Linked DNA regions of Homo sapiens: region 1 is linked to region 2. The links are contacts of gene promoters, found by promoter capture Hi-C in blood cells and fetal thymus (Javierre and others, 2016). All regions are on one chromosome and are shown on one strand. Each heading gives the region's core, a stretch centred on a gene start or on the middle of the fragment in contact. The rest is flanking DNA. Distances are from core to core; before and after follow the strand shown. Region 1 overlaps FDX1 (ferredoxin 1). Region 2 holds the start of SIK2 (salt inducible kinase 2).

Region 1 (4,434 bases), core at 1-2,500, 1.2 Mb after region 2:
TGTAGTGACGGGGTGCCACCATGTTGCTCAAGCTGGTCTCAAATTCCTGGCCTCAAGCCATCTTCTCAACTTGGCCTCCTAAAACTCTGAGATTACAGGCCTGAGCCACCATGCCTAGCCGAAGGTATTTTCTTTTCTTTCCAAAGCTTATTTGGAAATCAAAGGCATATATATCTACCCACCTACCAGGTAATAAGCTCTACTACCTTACAGGAAATGGCAATGACTACCTGGTCAACGCCACCTGGTGGCCTCAGTATATGTCTCCCTAATAGTCACAGTTATAAAACATTTGGCAATTATTATCACTCATGAACTCTATTTTACTCTCATACAAGCCAGTGCAGTAGCTTGCACCTGTAACCCCAGTACTTCGAGAAGCTGAAGTGGGAAGATTGTTTGACGCCAGAAGTTTGAGACCAGCCTGGGCAACATGGCAAGATCCCATCTTTACAAAAAATAAAATAATTAGCCAGGTGTGGTGATGTGATCTGTAGTCCCAGCTAATTGGGAGGCTGAAACGGGAGGATCCCTTGAGCCCAGGAGGAGGAAGAGGCTGCAATGGGATATGATTGCACCACTGCACTCCAGCCTGGGCAACACAGCAAGACCCTGTCATTTAAAAAAGAAAAGGCCAAGTGTGGTGGCTCATACCTGTACTCCTAGCACTTTGGGAGGCCGAGGCAGGGGACTGCTTGAGCCCAGGAGTTTGAGACCAGCCTGAGCAACACAGAGAGACCCTATTGCTACAAAAAATAAAAATAAAAATGAGATGGTTGTAGGTGTATGAAAAATAAAAGGCATGGTGGTATTTGCCCATAGTACCAGCTACTCATGGGGCTGAGGTGGATCACCCGATCCCAGAAGTTCAGGGCTGCAGTGAGCCGTGATTACACCATTGCACTCTAACCTGGGCAACAGCTCAAGGCCCTGTCTCAAAAAAAAAAAAAAAAAAAAAAACAAAAAAAGTCATCACACAGCTCTCTGAAAAACATGAATGTGTCCATAAAAGACTAGACCAGGGTTGTAGTGAGCTTCTAAAAAGCAAATCATGGCCGAGCATGGTGACTCACGCCTGTAATTCCAACACTTTGGGAGGCCAAGGCGGGCGGATTACCTGAGGTCAGAAGTTCAAGACCAGCCTGGCCAACATGGCGAAACCCCGTCTCTACTAAAAATACAAAAATTAGGCATGGTGGTACATGCCTGTAATCCCAGCTACTCGGGAGGCTGAGGCAGGAGAATCGCTTGAACCCGGAAGGCAGAGGTTGCAGTGAGCCGAGATCAAACCACTGCACTCCAGCCCGGGTGGCAGAGTGAAACTCTGTCTCCAAAAAAAAAAAAAAAAAAATCAATAGGGCGATTGCTTTTCCAGTGCTACATAGAATACTACTGCTGAGAGATGTTGTTTAGTAGTTTTCTGCGTATTTGACATCTCATTTCAGTCCACATTGTATACTTACAAATCAAAGGGACTAGAAAAAGTTTATTTGTTTGAATCTGTAAGATAAATACCTCCTTACATGTTTTTTTAAGATAGTATGTTAACTATCAGCTAGCTGACTTAAATTTCCTTCACTTCTCACAAACATCCCTCCAAAATTTGAGAAGCCATTATACTAAAAACTAGATCCTTATTCCTCCACCATTGGTCATTTTAATTTTTACCTCACACTTGAAAAGATTCTCTTCAACTTAAAATAATGAGTTGTTATTCTTATTACTACCAGTAGATGGCAATAGCCCATCAAACAAATCTTTAAGTAAAACTCAGAATTAAATAATTTCAGAGCCATAACTATCTCGAAAGTTATCAAGTCCAGTGATCCCATTTCACAAATGAGGCAACTGAAGCCCCACTGGGATAATGCCCTCCCTAATATTATAACACTGGGAAAAAAAACAGGATTCTATTCATTAAAACTCATCAAAAGGGTGTGTGTGTGTGTACCAGAATGTTCCTCAAAAGGGCCTGCGCTCTCCAACTTCTTTTCACAGCCAAAACATGCTTTAAAACTAGTATTCCCACATATTATTCATAATTTTCAACATGAATAACTGCCATTTTTTTCAAAGTACAATGGCTGAGAATGAAAATACCCTAGAGGCAGGGAGGCCACTTTGGAGGTTATCAAAACAGCATAAACTAATCAGGGACAGAGAATGCAGTGACTTAACAGACATCCAGGAGGTAGACCAAAAGGTTTTAGTGACCATCTACATAAGATAAACTGAAAAGCGGAAAGAAAAACATTGGGATTTCCAGCTCACACAATTAGGTGGTACCATTTAACCTAGGTTTAAGACAGGAACCAAAGGAACTTTGGGGAAGACAGAAATAAGTTGAAGCTTAGACCTGCTGAATTTAATAATGAAAAAGCCAGATGAGAATGTCCAAACACCAGATGGCAATATGGGTATGGGTCTGAGCCCAGCAGAGAAGTCTAGAGATTTGACATCAACGAATGCCTGGTAGCTAAAGCTACAGGAAGCACATTAGAAAGAATTCCATCATTTATACACACTACTGAAAGCCAGAGGTTTCAGCGTTGCTGTTCTTCTGAAGCACTCTAGAGCTAAGCTTACAGCAAAGGAATTCGAAATCTCTTACATCAGCCTCCTCTTCTATAAAATTGGACAACATTAATCTTATAGTTCTGACAATGTATGCAAAATACGTAACACATAGTAGAATTCAACACACACTGATTAATAACTGTTATTTAAAGACCAAGCCCTTTTGCTAAGAAGCCCAACCTGTTGGTCTGTATTAAAGGTAAACAGCCCTACAAAAAACTGCCAAGTAAGAGTATTAACAGGTTTACCAAAGAAGAGGAGAGGAGGCGGAAACGAAAGAAAAATGTAATTCTTAAGTTGAAAGAGTATGGAACCTAAGAGTCAGAAGATGTAGACCCTATGCTGGGAGTGGTCACTCACGCCTGTAATCCCAATACTTTGGGAGGCTGAAGCAGGCAGATTACTTGAGGCCAGGGGTTCCAGACCAGGCTGGTCAACATAGTGAAATCTCATCTCTACTAAAACTACAAAACTTAGCCGAGTGTGGTGGCACGCGCCTGTAATCCCAGATATTCGGGTGGCTGAGGCACGAGAATCGCTTGAACCTGGGAGGTGTAGGCTGCAGTGAGCCATGATGGCACCACTGCACTCAGGTGAAGAGTACACCAACACCTCCAAAATCACCACTAAAGAACTAACCCATTAACCAAACACCACCTGTGCCCCCAAAACTACTGAAATTTTAAAAATAAATAGAAATTTAAAATTTTTTTAAAATCCGCAAAAACTTCTTGAGTTCTAGTCCTAGTTTTGCCAGCTACTTAATATGAAATTTTTATTCCCATTTATCTACCCTCCCTACCTCATAGAATTGTCTTAAGAGTCATACGAAACAATACACGTGAAAGATCTTTGCTACCTGAATCACTGCAAACCCCCTTGTGTCACGGTATTTTAGAGTAAAAGGAGTTTTTCTGACTCTCAATTACTGATAGCTTATCGAGTTGTTAAACTTCAAAGACAGAACTACAGTTTCTAGAACTGCTCTGTCTGTCTATAAGAACTTTGTGCCATAACAAAGATGTTCTACACATACTTGCAATGTCCAATACAGTAGCCACTAGCCACATGTGGCTACTGAGAACTCGAAATGTGGCTAGTGTAACTACGAGATTGAATCTTTAATTTTATTTACCTTTAATTATGTTAAACTTCAATAGCCACATGTGATTAGTAGTTACGGTAGTTACAGCACAAGTCTCATTAACACAGTAAGAACTGGAAAATCCAGTTGTAGCTCCAAAGTCTGTAAGAGGAATGATAAGACCATGAATAGAAATTGTGCCAATAAAGAGGGCAGCAGGATTATGAGGAAATAGACGTGCTCCCCTTTAAAACAACCTGACATATCCAAATCCAAAAAACAAATCTGAGAAAGATAACTCCCAATTACTACAAAAACATTCATGTTCCCTTATACCAGTTACACAAGCATGTTCAATATCTGTCCCAATTGATTCAGTTGTCCAAAACTCATCCATTGTATAACAGAAAGCAAGGTACCCACACTGGTCAAAGACAGGGGGGGAAGTGCAGAGGAAACAGGAACAAATAAATCTGGCTTGCCTTCTCCCTGATTTCCCCCAAAGTTCACACAACAAAAATGTATGGAGCACCCACTAGATAACGGGATTAGTGGGGAAAAGATGACTGAAAGTCTTAGACCCTGCTCTCAGAGACCTCAAAAAGAAACTAGACAAAGCAGCGTACAAATCCAACACACTCTCCCTCTAGTTCTCGATTCCTGCTACCCTACATCATGCGGTCAAAGAGCTGTCGAGAGATCTGCATTATATAAATCGCCACCATGTTGGTAAAAATTATGTGTAAATTGTATCTCTAGTATATCTAAGGAGT
Region 2 (4,057 bases), core at 1,441-3,940:
ACACACAAATTAGCCGGGCATGGTGGTGAGCGCCTGTAATCCCAGCTACTTGGGAGGGTGAGGCAGGAGAATCGCTCGAACCCAGGAGGCAGAGGTTGCAGTGAGCCGAGATCGCACCACTGCACTCCAGCCAGCCTGGGCAACAAGAGCGAGGCTCCGTCTCAAAAAAAAAAAAAAAAAATTCAGAGCAACTTTACAACCTAGAGATCCAGAGAACTTTTCTGTTCAAAGATTGCTTTGACATTTCACTTATCCCTCTCTACCTTAATATCTCCAATCACACCCACCAAATTACCACAGATACCCTCACCCATCTCAAATTCACACTATTTCTTTTTATATGTTAATAACAGCTTCTTTAGAAAAGCACAGGGAAATGGGTTCTGCGGACTAAACATTTAGCTTTTAACGTAAATCATTTTACACATATATACTACACACACGATTTAGGATCTAAGTCCTCTTTCACGATCTGACCGGTGCTTGTTCCAATTACAAATGAATGCATTGATCTCACTCTGATAGCCAAACCACGGTATTACTCCATAGTGCCCCCTAGCTCTTTAAGATATATTAGTTTAAAACGGACACCATTTGAATTGTCAACCTCAAAGTGTCAATCACTCCACTTAAGCAGCTCTTACTGTATTAACTAAATTTGACCTGATAAATAATAGATGACTTAATTAAATCTTGCTATTAATCCCAGTAAGAGCTGATGAGAAAAAAATATTAAGAACTGATGGATTTGGAATTCAACCACACGATATACTACAGTTCAAAAGTTTTGTAGAACCTCTCTATAACTCACAATTTGTTTGTTTTTAGAAAGTCATTAAGCAAGGACTCATAAAACATGCATTTAAAATGCCTTCTTTTATGTAACTTAAAGGGAAATGGCATGGCATAGGCCATGGCTCTTCAGAGGAATGGAACCAATTTCTTCATTTTAAAAAATGCTGGGATCAGATTAAGATTTAACAATATCACTATAGTCAAGTTATCATTATCATTACAAACAATCTAAATTGCTAACTGGTAAATCTGTGAGAAGAAAATATCTGACCTTGGTCCTGATTCTAAAAGATAAGTCAGATTTGGACTGGTTCAGGACCAGCAGGGGAAGGCAAAAAGTAAAGAAGACAGAATGACATATACCCCTTCCTTTTGGAAACGGGATTAAGCAAAACTTCTAAGTACAACTGCAACTCCAAAAATCACTCACGTTTGCAAGTGCCCTTCGCCTTACATAAGTCATTCTGAAAAGAAGTCCTACTTTATTCTACACTCAAACTCCAGTACATTCGTACTAACAAGGGAAAAAGCAGAATAGGACCAAAACTGGAGGGCAAACAAACAGGAAAAGGATGAAACTCCAGGAGGAACTACAATAAGGCAGAGTAGAGTACGTCAAAACCACTAGGTTTTATTCTAAAGAATGGTTTTGTTTCTACCGTTCTTCTAAGGTATTTAATTTGCACGTCTTAAAATAGAGACCCTGAGGAGAGCAGCTTGAGGCAGTGGAAGGAAGGGGGGCGGGTTAGGTAAGAACAGAGACTTGTGAGAGAGTATGTGCGGTGCATTAGAATGTGCAATGAAGAGGGTGCAGGATTCACCGTCAGGAAGCAGTTGAGGGCTTTATGAGTAGAGGCAGAATCTGATATGGTTTAAAGAATGCGTATTACAGCCAGAATGCACACCTGGTACAGTGACAACCCTAGACAAGTAGAAGACCAATCCACCCACCGTGCAAATGCAGAGATGACCATTTTAACCAGTTCTATTGTCTGGGGCATTAAATGGAAATGCCCCAGGCAAGAGATCAAGCTAGCCAGACACCAAATCAGAGACACCCTGGGCCAAAAGGAAGGAGAGGAGATGGACAGTGGCCGTGGGGGTATTCCCAGCCATGGGGCCCTTCCTCGTCGGGCAGGGGAGGGGCGCCGGGGTCACGGGGGCCGCACGATCCCCCATCCGCGGAGCCCAAGCGCAGGCGGTCCCCTCCTCGGGCCGGCGACGTCTCTCACGGCGCAGCCTGGGAACACCGAGACTTCCCCTCCCACCCCACCCCCAGCCGAAAGCAGGGAAGACGCGGAACTTGGGCTCCGGAGCGGAGGCCACAGACCAGGTCACGGCCCGGGTGGGGGGCTCTGGGCGAAATTCCGGGTGGCCACCGGGGGTGGCGTAGGGGAAAGCAAAGCCCCGGCTGGTTGCGTTTCCAGTCGGACGACACTCGGGTCCGGGTGCCCGGGCCCGATCCCTTCGCTGCTCACCGACCCCCTGCACCTCCTGGGTCCTCACAGTCCCAGGCCCGCTCGCCTCCGCCAGTGAGGCGGCCTCTCGGGTCTCCCCGGTCCCACCACTGCGGCCGCCCCTCTCGGTAAGCAGCTCCTCTCCCGAACCCTCGCCTCGGACGCTCCCGCCGAGCCCCGGGCCGCACCTCCGTCTTGGTGATCCGGTGCCGCCCCAGCTTCACCACAGCGAAGTTGCCCTTGCCCAGCGTGCCCTCGATGTCGTAGAACCCCACCCGGACCGGCCCGCGCTGCAAGTGCCTCGGGCCATCCGCCATGACCATGCTGGGCCCCGCTGCTAGACACGGCGGACAGGAGCGCGGGCGGGCGGGAGGGTTGGCAGCGCGGCTTGGCTTGGGCGACGGCCGCTCCGCTTGCTCCTTCGCTCCTTCGCTCCTTCCCTCCCGCTCCCCAGGGCCCAGCCAGGCGCGCGCCGCCGCTGACGTGCGCCGACGTCAGGGGGCCGGGGCAGGGGGGCGGGGGCGGGCCCGAGCCTGGATTGGTCACCATGGCGACCGAAGCACCGCCGACGTCGGCTGCTGGAGAGTGGGGGACGGCGCACGGGGAGGGGCGCGAGCCTGGCCGGCGCGCTCCTTCCGGGCTCAGACGCCCTCCCCTCGCCCCTCCGCCTCACCGCTGCCAGGGGCGGGGTCGCTGCTCGGCCCGCTCCGTTCCTCGGCCTTCCAGGCGAAGGGCAAGAGCGAGCCCTGGCGGACCGTGCGGAGGGGTGCAGAGACCTGGATGCGGCCTGCGATCTCCTTCCCCGCCCCGGCGTTCTCCGCCCACCCGGGGTCCTTCCCGCCAAAACCTCTCACCTACAAGTACAGCGCGTCCTAAATTTGGCACCGGCAAAGAACTGTGGCTGAGCAATGCGTTGCTCACAGGCTCCTTTCTTTGTGTCCTTTTCTCTTCTCGTTGCTATATATAATAAAACCCTCCACGTTTTGATGTCTCCGAGGAGTCATTCTGACAGCAGTGCAGTCGCTTATAGACTCACAGAATGTCAATGTCAGCGCTGAAGAGATCTTGGAGATCACTTAATCCAGAGATTTGGAGCCTCATGTGAGCTTCAGAGTTTGGAACCCCCTAAAACACAGGCCAGTTTTTGCTTATGTGAGCATGTCTCTGGGGAGATGGACCCGTAGCTTCTGTCAGATTCCCAAACGCGTTGGTGACTCTGAAAAAGTTTAGAAATATTTCTCTAATCCAATTTTTTTCCCCAAAGGACGAAGAAGACCTCAAGGAATAAAGGGAATTGCCTAGGTCACACAGGCAATAGTCGAGGTAGGATTATAAATCACACCACGCTTCCAAATGTGACTCAAGGAAACAGGGACAGTGACACCTCACTATTTTGAGATGTATCATATGCCTTTATATCTTGGTTTCTAAATACCATTCTCCACCTAAAGGAGCCAGACTCCGTGGCGAGATGGCTCATTCGAGGGCAGAGACAGGGAAAGTATAAAATGCCCTTGAAAGATCCTGCTCCTTAAAGCAAGGAGATTTCTTGGCTATGTCAAGGAAGATATGTCAAAAGAAAGCAGATGGCTCGAAGGTGCTCCCCCCTTACCAAATCTGAGACAGTTTGAGTATCAGGAATAAATAATGGGCCGGGCTTAGTGGCTTACGCCTGTAATCCCAGCACTTTGGGAGGCTGAGGCGGGTGGATCACCTGAGGTCAGGAGTTCAAGACTAGCCTGTGTGAAACCCCATCTCTACTAAAAATGCAAAAATTAGCCGGGCGTGGTAGTGGGCGCCTATAA

What was found. Contacts are between HindIII fragments. The CHiCAGO score rates a contact against its expected background, and 5 or more counts as called.
Region 1: a fragment that was not itself captured here is called in contact with the fragment with the promoter of SIK2 in region 2 in 1 of 17 cell types (total B cells); the score reaches 5.5 in total B cells.

The regions. Positions count from the first base shown.
Region 1 is chr11:110,431,252-110,435,685 of GRCh38, reverse strand. All of the region lies in intron 1 of FDX1 (ferredoxin 1), which reads right to left. Among named protein-coding and RNA genes, the nearest start is that of FDX1, 3.5 kb to the right of the region's middle. The HindIII fragment of the contact is 2,203 bases long and covers 149-2,351 here.
Region 2 is chr11:111,601,082-111,605,138 of GRCh38, reverse strand. SIK2 (salt inducible kinase 2) reads right to left here and starts at 2,690. Exons shown (of 15, transcript NM_015191.3): 1 at 2,441-2,690. The coding sequence starts at 2,575. RefSeq lists silencers at 1,925-2,084, 2,635-3,074 and an enhancer at 3,165-3,304. The HindIII fragment of the contact is 10,147 bases long and covers 1-4,057 here.